2 separate regions of the Homo sapiens genome follow, and region 1 is linked to region 2. The links are contacts of gene promoters, found by promoter capture Hi-C in blood cells and fetal thymus (Javierre and others, 2016). All regions are on one chromosome and are shown on one strand. Each heading gives the region's core, a stretch centred on a gene start or on the middle of the fragment in contact. The rest is flanking DNA. Distances are from core to core; before and after follow the strand shown. Region 1 has its middle 36 kb from the start of MARVELD2. Region 2 holds the start of MARVELD2 (MARVEL domain containing 2).

What was found. The method cuts DNA at HindIII sites, captures the fragments that hold promoters and counts their contacts. A CHiCAGO score of 5 or more calls a contact.
Region 1: a contact is called between a fragment that was not itself captured here and the fragment with the promoter of MARVELD2 in region 2, in 1 of 17 cell types (erythroblasts). The highest score is 6.2, in erythroblasts.

Annotation. Positions count from the first base shown.
Region 1 is chr5:69,447,300-69,453,945 of GRCh38, forward strand. No RefSeq gene overlaps it. Among named protein-coding and RNA genes, the nearest start is that of MARVELD2, 36 kb to the left of the region's middle. The HindIII fragment of the contact is 7,883 bases long and covers 1-6,646 here.
Region 2 is chr5:69,412,485-69,418,989 of GRCh38, forward strand. MARVELD2 (MARVEL domain containing 2) reads left to right here and starts at 2,632. Exons shown (of 7, transcript NM_001038603.3): 1 at 2,632-2,686. RAD17 (RAD17 checkpoint clamp loader component) reads left to right here. Exons shown (of 19, transcript NM_133338.3): 19 at 1,547-2,317. The coding sequence ends at 1,808. RefSeq lists enhancers at 2,409-3,292, 3,293-4,175. The HindIII fragment of the contact is 19,290 bases long and covers 1-6,505 here.

The DNA.
Region 1 (6,646 bases), core at 2,127-4,626, 36 kb after region 2:
GAGAAAGAAGAAAGAGAAAGAAGGAAGGAGAGAAAGAGAGAGGAAGGGAGGGAGGGAGGGAAAGAGAAAAGAAAGAGAAAGAAGAAAAGAAAGAAGAAAGAAAAAGAAGAAAAGAAGGAAGGAAGGGAAGAGAGAGAGAGAGAAAGGAAGGAAGGAAGGAAAGAAAGAAGAGAGGCCAGGTGCGGTGACTCACGCCTGTAATCCCAGTACTTTGGGAGGCTGAGGCAGGCGGATCAAGAGGTCAGGAGATCGAGACTGTTCTGGCTAACATGGTGAAACCGCGTCTCCACTAAAAATACAAAAAATTTAGCTGGGCTTGGTTGCGGGCACTTGTAGTCCCAGCTACTCGGGAGGCTGAGGCAGGAGAATGGCGTGAACCCGGGAGGCGGAGCTTGTAGTGAGCCGAGATCGCGCCACCACACTTCAACCTGGGCAACAGAGCAAGACTCAGTCTCGGAAAAAAAAAAAAAAAAAGAAAGTTATTTTGAAACTCCAACCTCTGATGATAGAATTCAGAATAGGGGTTACCTGTGAGAGAGGTTTATTGGCTGGGAAGGAGCATGAGGGAGCTTTCTGGGTACTATACCTTCATCTGGTTCGTTGCTTACCAGGATATATACATATTTAAAAATCCATCAAGCTAAGCATTTAAAATTGGTGCCTTTTACTGTACATATATTATACATGTATTTTACCTCAATTTTTTTTCTTTTTTAAGACGGAGTCTCTCTCTGTTGCCCAGGCTGGAGTGCAGTGGCGCAATCTCGCCTCACTGCAACCTCCACCTCCAGAGTTCAAGTGACTCTCCTGCCTCAGCCTCCCGAGTAGGTGGGATCACAGGTGTGAGCCACCACGCCCAGCTAATTTTTGTATTTTTAGTAGTGACGGGGTTTCACCATGTTGGTCAGGCTGATCTCGAATTCCTAGCCTCAAGTGATCCACCCACCTCGGCCTCCCAAAGTGCTGGGATTACAAGTGTGAACCACTGCGCCTGGACAGGGTCTTGCTCTGTCTCCCAAGCTGGAGTGCAGTGATGTGATCTCAACTCACTGCAACCTCTGCTTTCCAGGCTCAAGCAGCCCTCCAGCCTCAGACTCCGGAGCAGCTGGGCAGCTGGGACCACAGGAGCAAGCTACCACGCCCAGCTAATTTTTTTTTTTAAGAGATGGGGTTTCCATGTTGCCCAGGCTGGTATATCTCAAATTTTTTTTTTTTTTTTGAGACGGAGTTTTGCACTGTTGCCAGGGCTGGAGTGCAATGGTACGATCTCAGTTCACTACAACCTCTGCCTCCCAGGTTCAAGCGATTCTCCTGCCTCAGCCTCCCGAGTAGCTGGGATTACAGGCGCCTGCCACCATGCCCGGCTAATTTTTTGTATTTTTAGTAGAGACGGGGTTTCACTATGTTGGCCAGGCTGGTCTCGAAGTCCTGACCTCCAGATCTGCCCGCCTTGGCCTCCCAAGTGCTGGGATTACAGGCGTGAGCCACCGTGCTTGGCCCTCAATTTCTAACAATTATACTGTATACATGTTTGAACAAAAGTATGTTCACAGTTTTTTTTTAAGTAATGTTGTTGTTGTTGTTGTTGTTGTTTTGAGACACTGTCTCACTCCCTCGCCTGGGCTGGAGTGCAGTAGTGTGATCTCGGCCCACTGCAACCTCTGCCTCCTGCGTTCAAGTGATTCTCCTGCCTCAGCCTCCTGAGTAGCTGAGATTACAGGTGTGAGCCACCACACCTGGATAATTTTTGTATTTTTAGTAGAGATGAGGTTTCACCATGTTGGCCAGGCTGTTGTCGAACTCCTGACCTCAGGTCATCCACTCACCTCAGCCTCCCAAAGTGCTGGGATTACAGGCGTGAGCCACCGCGCCTGGCCAAAAAAATGTAAATTTAAGAATACAATGCTTTCATAAATTGGGAACTGCCTGTAGTGTTCTAGTGATCTTTGGAAAACATTTACAAAGTTCTGGAGAAACAAAAATCTTACAACTATTGGCTTCATGAGCCATATTTGAAACCCAAGCCTGTGTGTGTGTGTGTGTGTGTGTGTGTGTGTGTGTGTGTATGACTTGAAGCCAAACCCCACATCTAAGATGGTAGATATAACCATTTCGTCCCCTTTTCCCCTATGAGTGGTTCTAAAACAAAAAGTCTGCAAGTGAATGGGCCTGATTTATACCTGTTTAAATGCTTTTATTCAACATAATTGCATTCATGCCTATGAATTCCCTTTGTGTATAGGGCAGGAGGCTGAAGGATGTATGACACGTGGGGAAAATGCTGTTAGTTAATGTGTGAACAATAGTAGCCCTTCCCAATTTAAATCTTGTTTGTGACCAGTAAGCCTGCCAGTGTTAATATTCAAGGGTACTCTGCGGATTGCTATTGCTGAAGGGCAAAGCCAAGTTAAAAGACAAAGTTACTCAGAACTAGCTTCCCAAGTATTTGGAAGGTGCCTGCCATGTGATATAGCTGCCCAGATGCAGCAATGTGGTGAAAACAGTCGGCCACTGTTCTTAGAGTTTATAGTGATATCCAGGATTTTCTTAGAAACCCTCAGGGTTGGCCGGGCGCGGTAGCTCACGCCTGCAATCCGAGCACTTTGGGAGGCCGAGGTGGGCAGATCACAAGGTCAGCAGATCGAGACCATCCTGGCTAACACAGTGAAACCCCGTCTCTACTGAAAATACAAAAAAAAAAATAAAAATTAGCCAGGCGTGGTGGCAGGCGCCTGTAGTCCCAGCTACTCAGGAGGCTGAGGCAGTAGAATGGCGTGAACCCAGGAGGTGGAACTTGCAGTGAGCCGAGATCGCGCCACTGCACTCCAGCCTGGGTGACAGAGCAAAACTCCATCTCAGAAAAAAAAAAAAAAAAAAGAAAGAAACCCTCAGGGCTAAGGGTTTGAAATTAGAGAATATGAGAGATTACATACTGTAAGAACAACATTATGGTAGGTGTTTGATGTCAATGTGCCAAATGTCCATGAGTAACTCATGAGTCAATTTCAGAGAGTCACTGTTTCCCTACAGTTCCTTGATTTCTGCCTATTCTCAAGAGGAGAAATTGGTACTGAATGACTGTACTGTAGAAATTCCTCTTCCTCTTTGTGACATTCCCACCAGCAATGCATGCGGGTTTCAATTTCTCCACATCCTTGCCAACACTTGTTATTTTCTCTTTCTCTCTTTTAATAAATAGCCATACTGCCAGGCACAGTGGCTCACACCTGTAATCCCAACACTTTGGGAGGCCGAGGTACGCGGATCACTTGAGGTCAGGAGTTTGACACCAGCCTGGCCAACACGGTGAAACCTCGTCTCTACTAAAAATACTAAATTAGCTGGGCATGGTGGTGCATGCCTGTAATCCCAGCTACTCAGGAGGCTGAGGCAGGAGAATCACTTGAACCTGGGAGGCAAAGGTTGCAGTGAGCCTAGATTGCGCCACAGCACTTCAGCCTGGGCGACAGAGCAAGACTGTCTCAATAAATAAATAAATAAATAGCCATCCTAATAGATGTGAAGTGGTATCTCATTATGGTTTGAATTTCCTTAATGATTAGTGATGTTCAGCATTTTTTTCACGTACTTACTGGCCATGTGTACATCTTCCTTGAAAAATGGCCATTCAAATCCATTGCCCTTTTTTTTTTTTTTGAGGTGGAGCCTCACTCTGTCACCCAGGCTGGAGTGCAGTGGCACGATCTCGGCTCACTGCAACCTCCGCCTCCCGGGTTCAAATGATTTTCCTGCCTCAGCCTCCTGAGTAGCTGGGCCTACAGGTGTGTGCCACGATGCCCGGCTAATTTTTTTGTATTTTTGGTAGAGATGGGGTTTCACCGTGTTAGCCAGGATGGTCTCGATCTCCTGACCTCGTGATCCACCCGCCTCGGCCTCCCAAAGTGCTGTGATTTATAGGCGTGAGCCACCATGCCCGGCTGGTCATTGCCCATTTTTAAATTGGGTTGTGGTCGTTTTGTTGTTCAGTTGTAGGAGTTCTTTATATATTTTGAATTTGATTTAGTTTTGAACTTGGCTAAATCCATCTGTTTGTTCATCAGAAGAGTTGTAAAAATATATGCCAGAAAATAATCTCAGCTAAATTATCTTTGGATACAAAAATAATATAATCTGATAGGGGGCTTAATGATGGTGGAGTTTAGGTCAACAGATGTTACTGTTGGACTGCTGGTTGGGCTGGCCAGATAAGTATAGTAGGTCACAAAAAAATTAAAAGTATAGAAGTCAAGCAACAAGGCCAAGACTCCTTTGAGACCTGCAGCTGTGTTTTCTGGGTACCCAGTACCCAAGCCTTGTGCTTGGTACTTGTCCTCTGTACTCCAAACCTGGGTGTCCATAAATTGGGTAGAAAATGGCAGAAACAGCTGGGCGCAGTGGCTCATGCCTGTAATCCCAGCACTTTGGGAGGCCGAGGTGGATGGATCACCTGAAGTCAGGAGTTAGAGACCAGCGTGACCAACATGGGTTTCACCATGTTGGTCACGCTGGTCTCAACTAAAAATACAAAAATTCGCTGGGTGTGGTGGCAGATGCCTGTAATCCCACCTACTCGGGAGGCTGAAATAGGAGAATCGCTTGAACCTGGGAGGCAGAGGTTGCAGTGAGCCAAGATCATGCCACTGCACTCCAGCCTGAGAGACAGAGTGAGACTCCATCTCAAGAAAAAAAAAGAAAGAGAGAGAGAGAAAAAAAGAAAGGAAGGAAGGAAGGAAGGAAGGAAGGAAGGAAGGAAGGAAGGAAGGGGAAGGTAAGGGAAAGAAGGAAGGAAGGAAGAAAGAAAATGGAAGAGACAGGTTTCACACGTGTTTTTGGTTTGTAGCAGTGGGTAGGGAGTGCTTCAGTTAATCATTCACAGATCCTCTAGGTCAAAAGATTCTGAAGAAAATAGAACACATACTTGGTGAAACTGTTGTGGGACATGTGAATGAAATTAGGAATATATGATGGGAGAGCTCATTCAGAGAACTGGGAGAATGGGGATTCAGGTATAAATATTGAGTAAGAAAATAGGAAAGTAGTTATCAGAAACAAATACTTGGGACAACGGTATTAAAATTATTATAAAACAAACCTCCTGATTATACTTTCCATCTCCAGAGCTGGTTTCGGTATCACTATTTTACAGGAATATTACACCTGGCAGAGTTAAGAGGCAATCTAAATATTTACTTTCATGCTGCAACCTTTGCCCTGTTTGCAGTCTAGTTTCCCTGAGCTTTTAGAAGATAAGATACAAGCATTTGAATTTTGAGATAGTTTCATAAATATCGCAAATAACTGAAGCACCATGCTAACAAAACCTGACCTTTTCAAAACAGCAACACAAAGATTGGTTATATCTAATGTTATAGAAAATTATTTTTATCTAGTTATCTCATTATAATAATTCAACATATATTCCGAATAAGAGGAAGGAAAACTACTTAAAATTTTACCAAAATAAATCAGTTAATAAGCCTTTTAGCTTTTTTTCTTTTTCTTTCTTTCCTTGTTTTTGTTTGTTTGTTTTTGTTTGTGGCTATTTCAACTCCAGATAAGCCCTTTAAATAAAATAATAAACACTTTCGGAGGCTGAGGTGGGAGGATCACTTGAGCCTAGAAGTTTGAGACTAGCCTGGGCAACATGGCAAGACCCATCTCTAAAAAAAAAAAAATCATTAAGGCCGGGCCTGGTGGCTCACACCTGTAATCCCAGCACTTTGGGAGGCTGAGGCGGGTGGATCACGAGGTCAGGAGATCGAGACCATCCTGGCTAACACGGTGAAACCCCATCTCTACTAAAAAAAACAAAAACAAAATTAGCCAGACGTGGTGGCGGGCGCCTGTAGTCCCAGCTCCTTGAGAGGCTGAGGTGGCAGAATGGTGTGAACCCGGGAAGTGGAGCTTGCAGTGAGCCAACATTGCACCACTGCACTCCAGCCTGGGCGACAGAGCAAGACTTCCTCTAAAAAAAAAAAAAAAATCATTAAAAATAAGCTGGGTGTGGTGGCGCACGCCTGTGAGCCCAGCTACTGGGGAGACTGAGGCAGGAGGACCACTTGAGCCCAGGAGGTCCAGGGTGCAGTGAGCCGTGTTCATGCCACTGTACTCCACCCTGGGTGACAGAGGGAGACCCTGTCTCAAAAAAAAAAAAAACCAGAAAGAAACCAAACTTTGTTATGTTGCTTACCTTTCTTTTCTGAGGGGCTAGGGTGGTGTGCATTGGAGGAGTGGCCCACAAGTTCAAAAGACCAGGAGGGATGTTACTTCCTTTTCTTTTCTTTTTTTCTTTTTTGAGACAAAGTCTCGTTCTGTCACCCAGGCTGGAGTGCAGTGGTGCAATCACGGCTCACTGCAGCCTCAACCTCCTGGGCTCAAGTGATCCTCTCACCTTAGCCTCCCAAGTAGCTGGGACCACAGGTGCACCTCACCATGCCTGGCTAATTTTTAAAAATTTTTTGTAAAGACACCGTCTCCCTATGTCAGCCAGACTGGTCTTGAACTCCTGGGCTCAAGTAACCCCCTGCCTCTGCCTTCCAAAGTGTTGGGATTATAGGTGTGAGTCACTGTGCCTAGCCCCTTCCTTTTTTTTTTTTTTTTTTAACAATTTTTAAAAGCTGTGGAAAGCTAAGACCAGTGCCCAATA
Region 2 (6,505 bases), core at 1,382-3,881:
ACTTCAAATACTATTTACTTAGGGTGAATTCCTACAAATGAAATTGCTGGATCAATAGGTATATACCTTTTGGGGCTTTTCCTCTTTATTGCCAAATTGTTGGCAAGAATATTTTGCCAGTTTTGTATCCACTTACAGTGTATCAGTATGTTCTTTTCTCCTAACCCTTGCCACCACTGGGTTTTAAAAGTATCTTTGCCAGTTTAGAAGATGACAGTAATAGGCCAGGCGCAGTGGCTCATGCTTGTAATCCCAGCACTTTGGGAGGCTGAGGTGGGTGGATCATCTAAGGTCAGGAGTTCGAGACCAGCCTGGCCAACATGGTGAAACCCTATCTCTGCTAAAAATACAAAAACTAGCTGGGTGTGGTGGTGCCCGCGTGTAATCCCTGCTACTCCAGAGGCTGAGACAGGAGAATCGCTTGAACCTGAAGTGGAGGTTGCAGTGAGCCAAGATCGTGCTACTGCCCTGTAGCCTGGGTGACAGAGCAAGACTGTCTCAAAAAAAAAAAAAGATGACAGTAGTAGCTCATTATGTTAATTTTCATTTTTAAAATTACAAATTAGATTTAACAATTTAGGAACCATTTGTATTTGTTTTATAAGTTGTCCATGTTTGTGCCCATTTTTCTATTTCATTTTTTCCTTTTTAATTTGTAAAAATTCTTTACTGAAGGCTGGGTGTGGTGGCTCACACTTGTAATCCCCGCACTTTGGGAGGCGGAGGCAGATGGATCACCTGAGTTCGGGAGTTCAAGATTACCCTGGCCAACATGGTGAAACCCCATCTCTACTAAAAATACAAATTAGTTGGGCATGATGGCATGTGCCTGTAATCCCAGCTACTTGGGAGGCTGAGGCAGGAGAATCGCTTGAACCTGGGAGGCAGAGGTTGCAGTAAACTGAGATTGCACCACTGCACTCCTGCCTGGGCGATAGAGAAAGACAGTCTCAATGAAAAAAAAGAAAAAAGAAAAATTCTTTACTGAAGACATTATTTCTTTTTATTTTTAGGTGTTTTTGTTGTTGTGGTTTGGTTTGGTTTTTTTGTTTGTTTGTTTTTTGTTTGGAGACAGAGTCTTGCTCTGTCGTACAGGCTGGAGTTCAGTGGCACGAGCTTGGCTCACTGCAGCTTCTGCCTCCTGGGTTCAAACAATTCTCCTGCCTCAGCCTCCTGAGTAGCTGGGATTACAGATGCGTGCCACCACGCCTGGCTAATTTTTCTATTTTCAATAGAGATGGGTTTTTGCCATGTTGGCCAGGCTGGTCTTGAACTCCTGGCCTCAAGTGATCTGCCTGCCTTGGCCTCCCACAGTGCAGATAGTACAGGCATGAGCCATCGTGTTCAGCTCCTTTTTGTATTTTAAGTTGTAGGAACTTATTCAGTTTGTCATTTACCTTGTAGTTTTGTTTTTATAGTTAAAGGGACTAGCTAAACAGCACAATGTAGGTAAATGAAAGATGGCTTCATAATCATCACACTCATGGTGTAATTTAAAAATCTTCTCCTTTGGTTCTTATTAATGCCTGCACTGTGAATCTGACAGATTGAAAATGGAAGCCCTGACTGACAGGGAACATGGAATGATAGACCCTGACAGCGGAGATGAAGCCCAGCTTAATGGAGGACATTCTGCAGAGGAATCTCTGGGTGAACCCACTCAAGCCACTGTGCCGGAAACCTGGTCTCTTCCTTTGAGTCAGAATAGTGCCAGTGAACTGCCTGCTAGCCAGCCCCAGCCCTTTTCAGCCCAAGGAGACATGGAAGAAAACATAATAATAGAAGACTACGAGAGTGATGGGACATAGAAGCCAGCCTGCTAATCAGATTGCTACTTCACAGCTTCATTTTTGTTTCATTCAGTGGTACTTCAGCAGAGTTAATATGCTTTTCTGATGAATTACACAACAGTTTGTTAATTCTTCATTCTTGTAGTATTTCATCACAAGAAACCTACTCTTCTGTCATCTTGAAGTAAATAGAAGATCAAGCCTTCAAATCTCTTAATTTTTTCGGTATTTATTAAATCTGTGAGTGGTTTAAGGAGCGGTCAGTGTGTATAAAGTGTGTTTGAACATTATGCCAAATATCAAGATGTGAAGGACTAATTCAGGATGCAAAAACGTTATTGGGGGGTTGTAAATATCAACTATTCAACAGTTTAGGATGCAATTACGAGTGTAAACTGTGTGCCTTATTTACACTTTATTGTCTCCCGCTTCTCAGATAGTTTTGATGTGTTGTACAGTGGAATATCTTAGATACTTTTTGGAAAGTATTTACATAAGTTATATCACAATTAAAATGTTGAATTTAATTTTGTTTCTCCTGTCTTTTAACATTATCTAGCACGCACTCGCTGCCATGGGTCCTTAAGCACAGTGCACCAATCTCCCTCCCCCAGTGTCAAACTTTTCAAAAGATAGGGAAGAGGATGGCAACGTTGCGATGAGAACTGTAAACTCTTTCCAAAAGAGCCCAGTGTGTGGTCATTGCCGCGACGTGCCGGCTGGTGGCACCGAGCAGCCTGGGCCCAGAGCGGTTGTCGGGCCGACAGATCCGGGCGGGGCAAAGCCGGGCGGGGAAAGCTGGGCTCGTCCCGTCCCGGCCCCGCCCCCACCCCGGGAGCCCGATACCGGTTTCAGAGTCCTGGGCAGCGTGCGCGCTCTTCCTGGCGGCTGCGCAGGTAAGTGGGACCGGGGTGGGGCCACGTGACCGGGAGAGGAGGGCCCGGCGGCCCCCGGCCCAGGTGTGCTGCGACGGACGGCTGCCCGCGCTCGGCGCTCAGCCTGCCATAGCCCGCGGGGGAGGCCGGAGCCAGGGATCCGGGGAGGCCCGCGTCCCGCCAGGTTTCGCTCTGCGGACGCAGGTGCGGCCGAGCCGCCGTCCTTCCGGGCGCGGGGCGGGGCGCGCACCTCGGGGCGATCTCGGTGCTCCTTACCTGGGAGGTCTCCCGGCTTAGTTTCGGCCTCGTTGGGTCGGAATCTCCAAAGACAGTGGGTTTCAGCCAGAAACGCGAAGACGAACGCCTAGCCGGCGCGGGCAGAACCGAGGACACAATGAGATTTGTGGGACCGGGCGCCCAGAGGCTGGCGCGGGGGAGACCCCACAGCTAAAATGCTCGGTACCCCCGGGCAGTCGTGGGTTAGTTAGAACCGCAGAGCCTTTCCCGACCCCTCGGAAGCGCAGAAGTATCCGAAATCTACCCGTTTCTTGGGTCCAGCAAAACTTTTAAGCCAGGTAAACCGGTGGTTCTGTTTGTGTAAAGGTGACCAGGCATGATTCCTGTGACACTTTGCTGGGGCAGCCATTTCTCCTGCCATTGCCGCGGCTTTCCAAGATGAGTGTCCAAGAGTGGAGTAAGGGTCCGGGGCCTGAGCAGGACAAAGACACACGCTGCCGCGACCTGCGGGACCAGAACGAACTCTCAGTGACATCTTGAAAGACATTAGGGGTATCCAGATATTTAAGATGTAATGAAATACAGCTAACCATTCCCTTCTAAAAATCACATTATCTTGCTTTTCCACAACTCTTTAATAATTGCTTGTTTTTTCTTTAAAAATGGATAGGGTGGTTTGATTCAAATAAGCCACTTCACAGGTGAAGAGTTAAATCCATTACAGTGAATCGTATTTTTACCAGTGAGTTGAATTAAGCATAGCGTATCCTGTAAATGCTGTGTAAAACTTGCTAAAATCATTTGTTGTGCTTTTGCTTCTACATTTCTTAGGAATGTGTTTCAAAAACTAGAGTCGTAATAGCATTTCTAGAACTTACACTTTTTTAGAGAAAGAAAGAGAAAGGTACAAAAATAACTGATTGTTATAATATACAGAGCCGCTTTGCATTGGGCACCCTGCTGGGGCCATCACAGTTAATCCTCTAAGGTCGGAGTGCCCTATTAGAAGACCCTGGGTTTCCACCGCATTCCCTTGTCTCCAGTCTGTACATACCCTGTGTGCCTTGCTTGCCCTCTTAACGTCTCTACCTGGATTTTTAACGCATCTGAAACACTCTTCAGTCTGCTGCTCCCCAAGGCTAAGCTGGAGGGGTGGAGAATGAGGTATAGATAGATAAAATGATCAGATGTCTGGGGTTTACTTCAGAGGACTCTATTGGCAGAGGAAATAGTATGGGGAGTATAAATGAAACAAGTTTGGCCATAAATCGATAAGTGTAGAAGCTGGATGTGGGTACACAAGGGTTCATAATGCTATTCTTTCTACTTTTTATTATGTTTGAAAAATTCTATAATAAAAATTTTAAATACCTGTCTAGCATTTGACCTCTTCTCAAGATCTCAGTGATCCATTGGATTATTTCAATGGCCTAGCCAGTCTTCCTGTTTTACCTCTTGCCTTCTGGAGTGTACTCTCAACACAGCATCCATAGTGATACTGTTAAAACAAGTCAAGTCATGTCACTCCTCTATTCAGAATCCTCCAGTGGCTTCTCATCTCACTCCTAGCAAAAGACAAAGTCCTTTCTTTCCAGTGGTTTTCAAGGCCCTACATGATTCAGATGGCCTCAGTTCTACTATTCACCTTCTTACCCACTTTGCTGCTGCCACAGTAGCTTCCATGCCTAAATATTTCTTGAACATACCAGGCACTCCTGCTTCAGGGCATTTGCGCTAGCTATTCCATCTGCCTGAACACTTGTCCCTGATAATGGCCTGGCTTCCTCCTTCACCTTCAGTTCTATACTCAGATATCCCTTTCTCTGTGAAGATTTCCCTGCCCACTCGGTTTAAGATGGTAACATCCTGTCCCCATTGCAGTCTTTACCCCCTTTCTCAACTTTGTTCTTTAGCATACTGTATATTTCATTTATCTATCATCTGTCAATCTGCCCGGCACTCCCCCGGTTAAAGCATCATGAAGGCAAGGATTTCAGTCTGGTTTGTCCACCAGTATACTTTCAGCATGCCTGGTGCAAGGCAGGTTAAATGAAGGGTCTTCGTTTTCCAAAGTAAAATAAAATAAAGCCTTAGGAATTTCCAAATTGTTCAACAGTATAAAGATGGGGTTATCAGACCAGGTGCAGTGGCTAACGCTTGTAATCCCAGCACTTTGGGTGGCCAAGGCAGGAGGATCGCTTGAGCCCAGGAGTTCAAGACCAGCCTAGGCAACATAGTGATACTTAATGTCTACTAAAAATTTTAAAGAATTAGCGGCCGAGCGTGGTGGCTCACACCTGTAATCCCAGCACTTTGGGAGGCCGAGGCGGGTGGATTATGAGGTCAGGAGATCAAGATCATCCCGGCTAACATGGTCCCCATCTCTACTAAAAATACAAAAAATTAGCCGGGCGTGGTGGCGAGCACCTGTAGTCCCAGCTACTTGGGAGGCTGAGGCAGGAGAATGGCATGAACCTGGGAGGCGGAGCTTGCAGTGAGCCGAGATGGCACCACTGCACTCCAGCCTGGGCAACAGATTGAGACTCTGTCTCAAAAAAAAAAAAAAAAAGAATTAGCTGGGTATGGTGGCATGCACCTGTAGTCCCAGCTACTCAGGAGGCTGAGGCAGCTGGAGTGCTTGAGCCAGGGAGATTGAGGCTGCAGTGAGCTATGATTGTGCTCCTATGCTCTGGCCTGGGAAACAGAGTGAGACCCTGTCTTAAAAATATTAAATAAATAAAACAATAACAAAAAAGATGGGGTTATCCATTTTAATTTTGAGACCTTCATAGTATCAAGTACAATACCATGTGCCCAGTTTAAGTCTTCAATAATGAGTCTTGGCAGGGTGTGAATGAAAAAATTTTTTTAAGTCTTCAAACAAAATACTTATAAACAATTCGAGAGAGAAATTCAGCATACCTTAAAACTAGTAGTTAATTCACAAATGGTTTCCTTCTTTCTGTATATGGGTGCAGAGCATTGATTTCATGAATCAACAGGCTTAGTAAAAGTGCATTTTCTATGCTTTATTTTTGAGGTGGATTGAATACCTTCTGAGATACTTGAGTCTCTCCTTGGGAACAGTAAATCACCTGAATTGCCCTCGAAAGAGTAATAGTAATGGTCATTGCTGCCATTCTCTATTGTGCCTTGGGGGAGCCTTAGCCTTTGGTGATGTTGTCTCTGAGATTCAACTTTTTTACATCTAGTTTCAATTGTTAATATTTTAGACTGGAAGAAGCAAGTCCTCTAAAATGACTTTGTTGATTTAGGAAGGGGAAGGGCTGTGCATACCCTGTGTTTTAACAGACTGCCTCTCCTAGGCTATTCCAAGTGAAAATGAAGAATATTTGCTGACCCATCAAATTTCGCTACACTCAAACTCTTAGTATTTTGATTTAGATGTTTGAGGAAATGACTCTACTTGGGAGTGTGTTCGCGTTCTGTTGTGTTAAAGTTTTGTCACTTTTGTTTTTTATTTTATTGTTTAATAGGGCTCACAGATAAATTAGATTTATAAATCATTTTTCATTTCTTTTTTTTTTTCTTTTTTTTAGAGACAGAGACTCACTGTGTCAGCCAGGCTGGAGTGCAGTGGCG